Regions from separate parts of the Homo sapiens genome. Here region 1 is linked to region 2. The links are contacts of gene promoters, found by promoter capture Hi-C in human tissues and cell types (Jung and others, 2019). All regions are on one chromosome and are shown on one strand. Each heading gives the region's core, a stretch centred on a gene start or on the middle of the fragment in contact. The rest is flanking DNA. Distances are from core to core; before and after follow the strand shown.

What was found. The method cuts DNA at HindIII sites, captures the fragments that hold promoters and counts their contacts. A contact is called where the count stands out against the background at its distance.
Region 1: a contact is called between the fragment with the promoter of BAIAP2L2 here and the fragment with the promoter of TST in region 2, in 1 of the 25 tissues and cell types used here (heart right ventricle).

What each region holds. Positions count from the first base shown.
Region 1 is chr22:38,105,598-38,111,944 of GRCh38, reverse strand. It overlaps BAIAP2L2 (BAR/IMD domain containing adaptor protein 2 like 2), which reads left to right and starts at 1,261. Exons shown (of 14, transcript NM_025045.6): 1 at 1,261-1,470; 2 at 2,737-2,812; 3 at 3,604-3,690; 4 at 4,032-4,093. The coding sequence starts at 1,420. PLA2G6 (phospholipase A2 group VI) reads left to right here. Exons shown (of 17, transcript NM_003560.4): 17 at 1-450. The HindIII fragment of the contact is 15,386 bases long and covers 1-6,347 here.
Region 2 is chr22:37,016,615-37,023,199 of GRCh38, reverse strand. It overlaps TST (thiosulfate sulfurtransferase), which reads left to right and starts at 3,753. Exons shown (of 3, transcript NM_003312.6): 1 at 3,753-3,800; 2 at 4,447-5,062. The coding sequence starts at 4,468. MPST (mercaptopyruvate sulfurtransferase) reads right to left here and starts at 3,458. Exons shown (of 3, transcript NM_021126.8): 1 at 3,328-3,458. The coding sequence starts at 3,363. RefSeq lists silencers at 3,142-3,461, 3,472-3,591, 3,622-4,011, 4,172-4,231 and enhancers at 3,705-4,206, 4,235-5,210. The HindIII fragment of the contact is 8,246 bases long and covers 165-6,585 here.

The sequences.
Region 1 (6,347 bases), core at 12-2,511, 1.1 Mb before region 2:
GAAAGTCTAGAGCCCCCTTTGGCCCCTTTCCCTGACTGTCAAGGACAACTGACTCCCCCATCAGCTCAAACATTAAGGGTACCCGGGCACAACCGTACCCCTGCCCCCAGCCCCAGCCTCCCTGAGGGCCTGCCGGGCTGCCTCTGCCCCAGCCCCCAGCAAGGGCACTCCCAGGCTTCCTGGTGGGTGCAGCCCACTCCCTCTGCCCTCTGCTCCGTTCCCTGGGGGCTGGGACTAAAGAAATGGGTGTCCCCCACCCCATCAGCTGGGAAAGCCCAGGCCGCAGGAGTGGGATGCCCGTTGGACTTTGCCCCTCACACTGGCCCAGCCCCTCACACTGCCCCACCCCGAGAACCCTCAGCTCTCAAAGGTCACTCCTGGGAGTTTCTTCTTCCCAATGGAAGTGGCTTAAGAGCCAAAACTGAAATAAATCATTTGGATTCAAGTTCACCTGTGTTGTGTGTGCAGTGGTGTGAGATCCACCTGTTCCCCTGACCCCCGGCTCCCCTCGGCCTTGACCCTTGGCCTTGACCGGACTTTTCCTTTGTACCCGGACACTCTGTTTTCCAGGATCCCTGGGCAGGGACACCTCCTCTTTCCTCTAGGCCTCCCCTAAACCGGCCCTTAGGGTATGCAGAGGCAGCTGCCAGGCCCACATACCCCCGGCAGGCCCAAGGAGGGCCACAATCTTCAACTTCATCTTGGAGGACCAGGGAGAGCCCCATTTGTCACCCAGAGAGGCCGGGGACTCCGCGTGGACAGGCAGCGCGTGTGCAGGGCCGAGGTCTGCCCAGGGCTGGGCAACTCCAGCGTTTGTGCTGCTCCTGCTCCGGCAAGTGGAGGAGCTGGGCGGGCCAGAGCGGCTGTGGGAGCCAAGCTCAGAGGGCGTGGCCCCACTGTGAGCCGCAGGCCTGAGGACAGTGAGAAGTAAAGCGGCGTTCCCCTCCAGGGGCTGCTGCTGCTGGGTCTGGCAGAGAGAGTCCTGGGGGAGGGCATCGGGCAGCGCCCGCCCAGTAAGGTGGGCAATGCCTGGTATAGGCAGGTGGGAGGGCGGGGCCCCCCAGGGTTGGGGTCCTTGAGGAGGGGGTGACCCAGGAGGGGGCTCATCCACATGGGCACTTGTATCAGCCCACAGCTCCAAGGGGTGAATAATTGAAGGGCAGGTCACACGAGCCTGCCCGGCACAGGATGCCTTCCCTGCCGGATCTGGTTACGCCCCAGATCACATTCTGACATCCCGAGTTGGTGAATAATTAAGCTGCCACTCCTCTGAGGCAGGCCTCCATCTCCAGGTCCCTCTCCGAGGCTTCCTCGCTGCCAGCTGAGTCGTGGGCACCTGAGGGACTACCTACCACTGCTCCCGGCTGTGCCATCGCCACCAGCTCCCAGCCTCCTGCTCAGACCCGGGACAGCCCCTCCATGGCCCCCGAGATGGACCAGTTCTACAGGTCCACCATGGCCATCTACAAGGTGAGCACATGGGTGGCCAAGCCAGGCCTGAGCCCCTCCTCCCAGGGCACAGAAATCAGGCCCGCTCTGGAGGACGGAGGGCCAGCCGGGGCTACAGATGTCCTGGAAAGGGAAGCCTGGAGCCAGGCTGGGCCAGGGGTGGGTACGGGGGTAAGGATCCCCGAGAGCACTCAGCCATACAGCGGGAACCCCCAACTCCCAGATGCTGGACAAGGCAGGAGGGAGCCCAAGGCCCAGGGTGGGGAGAGTTGAGTCTGGATGAGAAGGGCCTGGCTGCCCGGCCTGGGAATAAAGAAAGACCCTCCCTCTCTCTCTCTGTCTCTCCCTCTCTCTCTCTCTCTCTCTCTCTCTCTCCCTCTCTCTCTCCCTCTCTCTGTCTCTCTCTCTCTCTGTCTCTCTCTCTCTCTGTCTCTCTCTCTCTCTCTGTCTCTCCCTGTCTCTGTCTCTCTCATTTCTGAGCCCCTCAGACTTCCTACTTCACCCCCGGGGGGTTGTTGCAGCCGCCACAGACATTTATTGAGCGCCTCCTGTGTGCAGGACCCTTTCACCTGGAGGCCTCACACCACCCACCTGTGAGGTGGAAAATGACCACCCTGCTTGATAGATGAGAAAACTGAGACCAAAGAGGTTAAACAGCTCATTCAAGGTCACGGAGGGAGGAAGAGGTGCTGCTGGGATTTGAACCGAGACCCAAGTCCAAGTCCAGGCCCAAGTCCAGGCCCGTCTTCACCATCCGGGGAGCTCTCTGCCCGGCCCCAGCCCGAGGAGGCCCACACTAATCCAGCCACAGCCTTGCCCATGGGGGGCTGTTCTCGGAGGAGGGCGAGAGCTGCCCTTGCCCCGGGGGTGACTGTTGGCAGCCCCAGGCGTGTAGCCCGGCAAGGCCTGGACACAGGGCAGGGCTGAGCCGTGCCCAGTGGGGACCACAGCAGGCGGGCCAGCTTCTGCCCAGCGGGAGGAGGAGAACCTTCCAGGTGCACCATCTCGGGAGGCACCTCGGTCCCGCCAGAGCAGACGTAAGCGGGAGCTGGCTGTGAGGGGACCACAGCTTAGAACAGGACCCCAAAAGATGGGCTCTGAGGTCCCTGCAGCCAAGAGCCAGGATTCTGGGTGAGCCTAGGTTTGTAGATGGGCCCCCCAAAGTCTGGGGCTTCTCACTGGGCTGGGGGTGCCCTGTCCCTGACGCCTGGTGACTTGACTCCATCCGTGGTTCCTTCTCGCTCCCCCATCTCTACACCTTTTTCCTCCCCTGACCCTGGGGTCCAGAGCATCATGGAGCAGTTTAACCCCGCCCTGGAGAACCTGGTGTACCTGGGCAACAACTACCTGCGTGCCTTCCACGGTGAGTGCCTGCCCGGGCCACCGAGCCCCAGCCCTGGGCCTCTGCTGTTCCCACCCACCCAGGCCCCTCCCAGATTCTCTGCATCCCACACCTGTTCATCCTCAACCCTACACCCTCCTACCCACCACCCTCACCCTCACACCTCTGCAGCCAGAGAGGCCTTATGCACCCCCACTCTCCTGTGCCCACGCACCCCAGTCCACACCCAGCACCCCTCATTGCCCCCTCCTTCAGGTGCCTCCAGACACTCCCATGATGCAGTACCAGGCCCTGCAGGCCCACACAGCCCCAGGGCAGCCCCTGACAGTGCATACATTTCTAGGCGTCACCTGGATGCCACCAGCTGAACCCACCCCTATACTCAGTCCCACCTCTGCACCCAGGCTCACACAGCAGCTGGCTTCCTCACTTCAACTGGCCACCACCCACACACCCTGCAGCTGGCCTTGACATTCACTCGGTCCCCGTGCAAACCCTTGTACCCGTCCGCTGTGGCCGCTCATACCTGCCAATAGCACCCCACTACCCACCAGTGCTGATCAACCCTGAACCTCAGGGCCTCCCATCCCCCTGCTTCTTAGATGCTTTCCACGCCACCTCCCTGCCCCCAGCCCTCACCTTATGCCCCTGCACCTGAGTTTCACAGCTCAACTGGTCACACCCTCCTCAGGGGCACACACAGATGCCCACACCCCACCCAGGACAGACACAGTCCCCTCCAGATGAAAAGAGCCTCCAGAAGGGTGGGGCAGAGGCAGGGCTGGACCAGACCTGTCCCTTCTGGTCCACAGCTCTGTCCGAGGCGGCCGAGGTCTACTTCAGTGCCATCCAGAAGATTGGGGAGCGTGCCCTGCAGAGCCCCACCTCACAGATTCTGGGTGAGGCTCCCCCTCCACAGCAGACCCCATTCTTGGGCCCTCCTTTTGCACCCTTGCCCTTCCAGGATGTCCCGAGTCCCTGACACAGGCCTTTCAGCCCAGGGCCCAGAGCCAGACTCTTGTTCTGGGGCCCAGGCTCCCCGCCACCACTCCCTGCCGGGCTGCTCCCAGGCTGGGACACACATGGCCTGGCTCCCAGAGAACCATATGGGAAGTTCCCGGACTTTGGTCCCAAAATCCAGTCTCGGGCAGGCCCTCTGTTGGCTTTCAGCGGAAGAGGGTGGTGGGTGGGCGGGGCAGGCTGCCACACACCAAAGCCACAGCTGCATCCATGCCTCCAGGGGAGATCTTGGTGCAGATGTCTGACACCCAGCGGCACTTGAACTCTGACCTGGAGGTGGTGGTGAGTATCAGGCCCCAGGGCCTGGAGGGGTCACTCGAGGAAAGTGGGCTATGTTCCAAGGAGAGGGCCCAGCCTACCAGATGCCCTTCCCAGGGAGGATGACCGTGGCTGCCCTTCCCAGCACCCGGCTCTGTGGGGCACGGTTCCCTGCAATAGTCGTTCAAGCCTCTAGCAGCCCTAGGAGGCTGGTGGCATTTCTGCCTCCATTTTATAGAGGAAGAAACTGAGTCTCAAAGAGCTAGTCATTGCCTGAGATGCCAGAGTGAATGGAGGCCCAAGGAAGAGAAAGGTCCTTTCACTGCAGCCCTCCTCACTGCAGCCTCCCAGGGAGCAGCCACATGGACCTGACCATGTCACTCCCAGGAGCAGAACCGTTCCACGGCCCCACTGCCCGTAGAACTGAACACAGGCTTCTCAGTGAGGGGTCCCTGGCTCTGTCGATCCAGCAGCTTCTCCTGACACCCCCAACACAGCCCAGCCCCCCGGAAGAGTGGGCCCTCTGCTGGTGTCCCCGCTGCGGGGCTGCTGTCCTGCTGTCCTCTCAGCCTAGAGCCACCGGTCCCTCCCCCTGCCGTCCAGTTGGGAAGCAGCTGTCCCCTCCTTCCCAAAGCCTCCTCTGACTCCCTGGGGCAAGTCCAGTCACCCCTCCCCCTGGACTCCAACAGATGATTCTGTCCGTTCTTAGCTCGTGGTGGGTTCAAAGCCCAGCTTCACCAGTGACTAGTTTTGTGACCTTGGACTCTATGCCTCCACTTACCTATCTGAGGAATGGAGAGAATCATAATAACTGCCTCCCAGGGTTCTTGAGAGGATGACGTGAATTAATAAGCATAAACCGTTTGCCCTGGCCCCTACTTACTGCCCCTGGATACCTTAGCTATGATAACCAGAAGTTAACTCACCTGCCCCTATCCCTCCCAAGACTGGGAGCGCCGCAGAGCCTTCCTTCCTCTCCGTAGCTCCAGGGCCTTCCGCCAAGCAGGGCTTCAGTGACACAGGGGAAAGAAAAGAGCTGAGGGAGTCAGCTTGGCTAGATGGAGAGAAGAGAGGGCTTTCCAAGGGAGCATGGCAGCGGGCTGCGCACAGCCATGAGCGGGCAGCAGGCAGGCATGAGCCAGGGCTTGGGCGCAGGGGCTGAGTGGGAGAGGTGGGGTGGGGCCTGGTGGTGAGGCAAGTGGGAAGGTTCGGAAGGAAATTTTAACTAATTGTTCTCCCTCCAATGTGTGAAGGGGAGCCCCTGGAAGTCAGGGTGCTCTTTGGGGGATACCATAAAATACTAGTCAGTTGGGCATGGGGAACAATCTTTTTTTTTTTTTTTTTTTTAATTTTTTTGAGACGGAGTCTTGCTCTGTCGTCCAGGCTGGAGTGCAGTGTCACAATCTCAGCTCACTGCAACCTCCGCCTCCTGGGTTCATGCCATTCCCCTGCCTCAGCCTCCCGAGCGGCTGGGATTACAGGCACCTGTCATCATGCCTGGCTAATTTTTTTATTTTTTTGCAGAGACGGGGTTTCACCATGTTGGCCAGGCTGGTCTTGAACTCCTGACCTCAAGTGATCTGCCCGCCTCGGCCTCCCAAAGTGCTGGGATTACAGCCGTGAGCCACCGCGCCTGGCGGGGGAACAATCTTTCTATTAGTAAATGCACATCCCACGCACACACAACAAGGCCCCAAGGCCCCTGGGCTCCGTGGACTCCTTGGGCACTTTAGGATGTAGCATTAAGCCCCTGCCACCCCCTTGGATGTGGGCACGGAGTTATGGAGCCTGTGGGTTCCTGTCCTTGTGTTCAATGGCTGTCCTTGTCACTTGTGGCACACCTGGGCTGGGCAGGGATGAGTGTCACCCAGGCCCACTCTGTAAGGAGAGCTGTCCTCTCCAGGCAGTGGCATCTCAGCTGTGATAACTGGGCAGGTCCACTGGCCAGAATCATACCAGACAGAACAGTGCCAGAGGCCACCCCCACCTGCAGCTCATTTATTTGATCCCTACTGACTGCCCTGTGCCAGGCACTGTGGTAGGCCGCGGGAATACAGCAGACAAAAACCCCTGCCATGCCAAAGAGGGAGCCAGAAAAACCCACAGTGAGTAAGTGAATCGATACGTAACACGTTCCATGCAAAATACACTAGGAGAAAAGTAGAGCAGGGAGGGGATGTCTTTGGGGGGTGCAGTTTTTAACAGACGAGGTGACACTGAAAAAGGCCTAAAGGTCCCGGCGCAGTGGCTCACGCTTGTAATCCCAGCACTTTGGGAG
Region 2 (6,585 bases), core at 2,504-5,003:
CCAGAATCCGGACTTCTCAGACACACACTCTGTGCAGGCTCCAGGAGTCTGGCGAGGCCAGGTTTTGCCTGTCCAGCCTGGGCTCTCTCTGGCCCTTCTAGCAGCAGCAACAGTGACTTCGCACCTCCCTCCCTCTCCTCTCTATCTTTCCTGCATACCAGAGACAGTGCACCAGCTCGCCAGCCCACTATGCCAGGCCAGCCCACAGCCTTCCTGGGTGTAAACTTCCCAAACACTTTAAGCCCTTTGTGCTGGGAAGCCACCGTTGTGCAGGTGAGAGGAAAGGGCCCCTTCTGCCAGGCAGAGGCTGAGCCCCCACCAGGGCACATGGCTGGGTGTGTGGAGTATGGGCTGCAGATCAGCCCTCACTTATCCCCTGTGTGAGGCCCAACCTTGACACCCACTGCATGCAGTCCTGCCAGCGAAATGAAGGGGGCAGGTAGAGAACAACATCTGTGGACCGAGTGCCTCTGTGGGCCAGGTCACATGCTAGGCACCGCAGCCTTGGGCGGGTATTAGGACGCCTGCTTTATGAATGAGGCCACTGGCAATTAGAAGAATAAGTGCCTTGCCCGTGGTCACAGGAGGCAGCCTCAGGATTTGCAGCCAGAATTTGACCCCTCAGGCTGGACTTCCCCTGCCCCAGGTGCCATGATGACCAGGGCCTAATGAGTTCTAGGGTGACACCCTGTGCCCACCCCCACAGTCTGGCCGCAGCTGGCTTTTAGGAACCTACTTCACCCATGCGGTCAGGCCTTGTGCCGGACACCGAGGCACTCTTGCCTTTGCCAAGCCCTGGGGGGAAACGTCAGGCTGCAGGCAAGAGAGAGTGAAATTGAGGATAGTTTAGAATTCAGTGTTGAGCACAGAGGGCCCCTATGTTTGCCTGGGGTGGCAGCAGAAGAGGTGGGAAGGCTTCCTGGAGTAGGAGGAAGTCCAGACTAATCTGACTTTTCCAGGGGCCCAGGAAGCCTCAGCACGGTCTTTAGGGTAGGGAGGCTGCCAAGGGGTGTTTGGCTAAGGGGTGATCCCCATTATCTGCGTTACAGCACAGCTAGGGGGCGCTGTGCTGGCAGATGCTGCAGGTTCCTTCCTGAGGAACCCTATTGTGGGAACCACAGCAGCCCCTGTGCACCCCCAAACACTGTCCCCTATTCTTGAGGATCCTTGTTTCCCTCACCCAATCATCCATTTACAGTAGAAAGAGCCCTGGTTTAGGAGCCAGAGAGCCCCCCAAATCAATGTAAACCCCACTCCACTGCTTAACTGGTTGTGTGATGTGGGTGTGTAGGGTCTCTGGGTGGTTTCTGTTCCTTATAATGGAGCTTCTCACCTCCACCTCTTAGAGCCAAGATTAAACAATAAATGTAGAGGGGCAACCACCATGCATTACATCTGGCTGGTTTTAATAATCATTAAAAACGGTTTAGGTCGGGCGTGGTGGCTCACACCTGCAATCCCAGCACTTCGGGAGGCCAAGGCGGGCGGATAACGAGGTCAAGAGTTCAAGACCAGCCTGACTAACATGGTGAAACCTCATCTCTACTAAAAATACAAAAATTAGCTGGGCATGGTGGCATGAGCCTGTAGTCCCAGCTACCCGGGAGGCTGAGGCAGGAGAATCGCTTGAACCTGGGAGGCAGAGGTTACAGTGAGCCGAGATCGCGCCACTGCACTCCAGCCTGGGCAACAGAGTGAGACTCCATCTCAAAATAATAATAATAATAATAATATTGCATTATTTCTTCCATTACTCTCATTGGTGGCCCTGGAACTGCCAGCAGCAAATCTAAAATCTTAGAATTTCAGGGCTTGGTGGGACTTCAGAGATCTGAGGTCACCCTGCCCCAGTCTCCCTGCTTGATTGGCACTTCTCACAAAGGTCTGTGGGCCATAAAGGAGGGTGTGAAGGCAGGCTGTGGGTGTCAGGGAGGGGTAGAAACCAGGTGCCTGTGTGATTCAGAAGCCGGGATCACTGTAGGTGAGGGTGCCCTGGGAGTGGAGGACCCCAGGACGTAACCGCCCCAGGCTCATGTCAGAAGGATACACAGCTGCACTGAAGCAAGCGTGAGCCGCAGGCTGGATCCAGGGTACCCCTTGAGGAGCAGAGCTTGGGAGCTCCTCTTGGACCTCCCCAGCCTGGTCCCTCCTGCCCACCCCCTCCCCCAACCACCAGACACTAGGCTTTGAGGATTGCTGTGAGCATTTTAGAACAAAACCTTTTTTTAAAAAGAGGGATGAGGCCAGGGATGGTGGCTCATGCCTGTAATCTCAGCACTTTGGGAGGCTGAGATGGGCAGATCACTTGAGCCCAGGAGTTCAAGACCAGCCTGGACAACATGGTGAAACCCCATCTCTACCAAAAATTTAAAAATTAGCCGGGAATGGTGGCACATGCCTGTGGTCCCACCTACTTGGGAGGCTAAGGTGGGAGGATCGCTTGAGCCTGGGAGGCGGAGGTTGCAGTGAGCTGAGATGGCGCCACTGCACTCCAGTCTGGGCCACAGAACCACAGCCTGTCTCAAAAAACAAAACAAAACAAAAGGTCAGGGTTGGGAAACAGGGAAAGCTTCCAGGCTGGCCTCTGCAAAAGCTAGGGAGGGGCAATGGTGTCCCCCAGTTTGCAAGAGCCCATGGCGAGCTTTTCAGGAATTTTGCCAACTGGTTGTTAAATACAGCTATTATTAAAAATTGAATTACATCAACTTATGATTAAACGGGCTAAGTTCAAAACAGGCAATTTTTTAAAAAGCATGAACCTTCAGGGAAGAGCCAGGTAAACAAAGGCAGCTGGTACCACGTGGGCTTCAGACCAGGGATCAGGCCCGGCCTCAACTCTGGGTGTGTCCTCCAGCAACTCGCTCTGCCGCTCTCTCCTGTCTTAGTAAGTTTCTGGCCTACTCCTCAGGGTTATTGTGGGAATTAAGTCACACCACGGGAGTACCCAGCAAAGTGCCACACCAAGCAGGGCTGGACAATGTTAGTTCCTTTCACTCACTAACAAGTTATTGGCTAGTGTCTCTTCCTGGGGCCTCTGGGTCAGCGGGGTCTCGTCTCCCTGTCCTCCTCTCTCTCCCCCGCCCTCTCTGGTGCCACCAGGTCACCCACTTCCACCCAAGGCTCCCCACCCGCCACTCGCCACGACCCCACCCGGCAGGCCGCCCCAAGCGGACAGTCACCCTTAGTGCCAACGTAGCGGCGCGCCTTCTCTCCTAGACTAAGCCCCCTCTTCCGCCCAGGTCCCGCGCGGGAGCCCCGCGCCGAGCACCCCCAAAGAGCCACTCCCTCCCCCTCCAGAAAGGCAAGCCGCCACGCCGCGGCAGTTACCCGGGTCTCGGACTCCCGGCTTCCTGGCTCCGCCATGGCCCCCGCGGCGCGGCGCCCCCTCCCCGCGCCCGCAGCTGTCCCCTCCTCCCGCCACCAACCTGCAGCGGACCAAAGGGAGGAGACTCCGGCACAGCCCACCGCCGCGGCCACTCGGAGCCGCTGCTGCCCGCGCCTTCCACTGGCCGGGCCGTGGGGGTACGCCCGCTCCGCCCAGCCCAGGCCCGCGCGGCCCCCGCGCCACCCGGCGTCCCCCTCAGACCCCCGCGGGTCCCGGAGGCCCCGCGCGCGAGGTTGGCAGGTGCCGGGCGCGAAGCGGCCGCGCGGGGGAGGCGCGGGATGGCGGCGGGCGGCGCAGGGTCCCCCTCTGGCGGTGGCGCGATGGTGCGCGCCGCCTGGGGAGCTGCGGCCGGGGGTTTGAACCGGCCAACTTCTCCAGCCGGCCGGGGCGAGCGCCAGCGCGGCGTCCGGGGCGAGTGAGTGCGGGGCGGGGGCAGCGGCCGGGCGCCTGGGCCGCCGGTCGGGCCACCTGCTGCCCGGGGAAGGATAGCGTTGCGAGAGTGGGACGGGGTGCCCCGGGAACCCCTGATCCACCTAGGGCAGAGGGCAGCGAGCTACGGGCCGGACTCGGGCACTCTGGAGGCGGGCGAGCTCGGGCTGCCTGGGGAGGCCGCAGGCGATGGCGTGTGCGCGGCTCGCGGAGCTTCCTAGCCGTGCGCCCACCCCCTCTGCCTTGGAAGGAAAGGGGATTCTAAGCCCAAGATGCCATCGCCCCCCATCCCGGGCATGCTTTCATTGCTCTTTCCTGGCGGGATCGAGTACTGTAACTTCTAGGAGCCAGATCCCCGCCCCAGGAAGCGCCCCTACTTGGAGTCCTCGGAAACTCTTGCCCCACCCGCTTCTGCGCTGGGCCCCCGGGCCGGCTGGGAGGGGCGGGGCCGGCTTTCCAGAGGGAATCTGCAAACTTATCCCGCTGCACGCCCCAGCCTCGCTGGCTTGCTGTAAACAAGGAACCCGGGGGAGTGCGGAGGGAGAAAGAGCTTCTCCCAGGCCTCACCCTACTGCACACACCGACTTCCTTCCTCACGCCTGTCTCTCTTTCCTGGTTCCCACCCGTGCCAGGTGACACGCAGAGCTGAAGCCATGGTTCATCAGGTGCTCTACCGGGCGCTGGTCTCCACCAAGTGGCTGGCGGAGTCCATCAGGACTGGCAAGCTGGGGCCCGGCCTGCGGGTGCTGGACGCGTCCTGGTACTCACCAGGCACCCGAGAGGCCCGCAAGGAGTACCTCGAGCGCCACGTACCCGGCGCCTCTTTCTTTGACATAGAAGAGTGCCGGGACACGGCGTCGCCCTACGAGATGATGCTGCCCAGCGAGGCTGGCTTCGCCGAGTATGTGGGCCGCCTGGGCATCAGCAACCACACGCACGTGGTGGTGTATGATGGTGAACACCTGGGCAGCTTCTATGCTCCCCGGGTCTGGTGGATGTTCCGTGTGTTTGGCCACCGCACCGTATCAGTGCTCAATGGTGGCTTCCGGAACTGGCTGAAGGAGGGCCACCCGGTGACATCCGAGCCCTCACGCCCAGAACCGGCCGTCTTCAAAGCCACACTGGACCGCTCCCTGCTCAAGACCTACGAGCAGGTGCTGGAGAACCTTGAATCTAAGAGGTTCCAGCTGGTGGATTCAAGGTCTCAAGGGCGGTTCCTGGGCACCGAGCCGGAGCCGGATGCAGTAGGTAGGTGTCCCAGTGCTGGGTGGTCCCTGGGGAGTATTGCCCCATGGAAGGATAGGGAGTAAGGATGACTGGGACCCTCTCCAGGGTCCGTCCCATGCCTTCAATCCTCCCATGTAGGCCTCAGTCTTTCCATCGATAAAACCAGAAAGTGGAGACAAACCTAAAGGCTTTTTCAGCTTGGATGCACAAGGACCCAAGAATGTGTCCTCATAGCCATGTGCTAAGAAGCCACCTAGCATCTGTGTGAGCAGAAGTCACTGGTGACATGTCCACCACCTCCACTCCCAGGCACCAGCTGCCCCACATGTACTAGGATATACCTAAGGGTGTCATGCCCCTGAGCCAGCGTTTGCATTGCTGTACAGAAACCTCCCACGGACACATCCAGCTTCTCCAGGCCTCTCTCGTCCCGCAGAAACCCTTATAGACATCAACAGTGTCCCTCCCCGCAGGATCCCCCTCTCCCCAAATCTAGCTCTCCTGGGGCCCCTGCCTGCTGTTTGCAAAGGTTCCATAACCTTTCCAGGCAGCTGCAGCCCGTCGGCAGAGTTGTAACAGCAGCTGCCATTTCATGCCAGACACTTGGCACCGCATTATCTCAGCGAACAAAGCTCAATGCCCCTGTTTTGGCAGCGGGGGGTGGGGGGACTGAGATGCCAGGACATAAAGTGGTGGAAGGCAGGATTCGAATCCAATGCTGCCTTGTTTCAAACCAGGGCTATAAACCAGGACGCACCCAATGCTGCCCTACCCCTACTTCCCAGGGCCAGGAGGGAGTCCCCTCTGCTAGTTGCCCCAGGAAGGCGACTCAGAAGTTCCCCTCCTGTGGAAGGGAAGGCCAGGTGGATTGGATACTGCTTGAGGGTTGGGGAGAGCCTCAGGAGAGGAAATGCTGAGTTCTAGAACCTCCTAGCCAGACAGAACCTCGGAGGTCTTCCCTTTTCTAGAGGCAGGACTGCCGTCTCGCTGCCATCACTCCTGCTGAGTGCCCTCCAGTCCCTGCCTGGCCATTTCCAGGAGCAGGGCCCTCTCTTGTCTCTGGGCACCTCCTTGGTGGCTCTTTCCTCAGTCAGAGCTCCTTCTCTACAGAATCTAACTCGTGTGCAACATTTTGCCTGACTTGTTGAAAAACATCTCTTCCTGTCTGTACCTCCTACAGAGAGAATGCTGGGAAAACTGTTCTGCACACTCTTAGAGCTGGAGGGCCTGAACGGTGACCTCACCTGACAGAGGGGAGACTGAGGTGCACAGAGGCAGGGGCCAAGGCCGCATAGCTAGTTAGTGACAGAGCCAGGACAGCAGGGTCTCTGCCCTTTCCAGCGCAGCTTTTTCCAGGCCCCATATTTTTCTTGCCTGCTTGCTCTCTGAAGGTCTGGAGTTGAAGATTCAAGTTCATTTGGCACCTCCCAGAGAATCCTGGCTGGGAACGCCTGCAGCCCTCTCCTGGCCTTGGTTCAAGACGCCTCTTCTCCTTGGGATTTAAGCTGTCATGGGGGAGGATCAGTGGAATTGGTTCTCTTGCT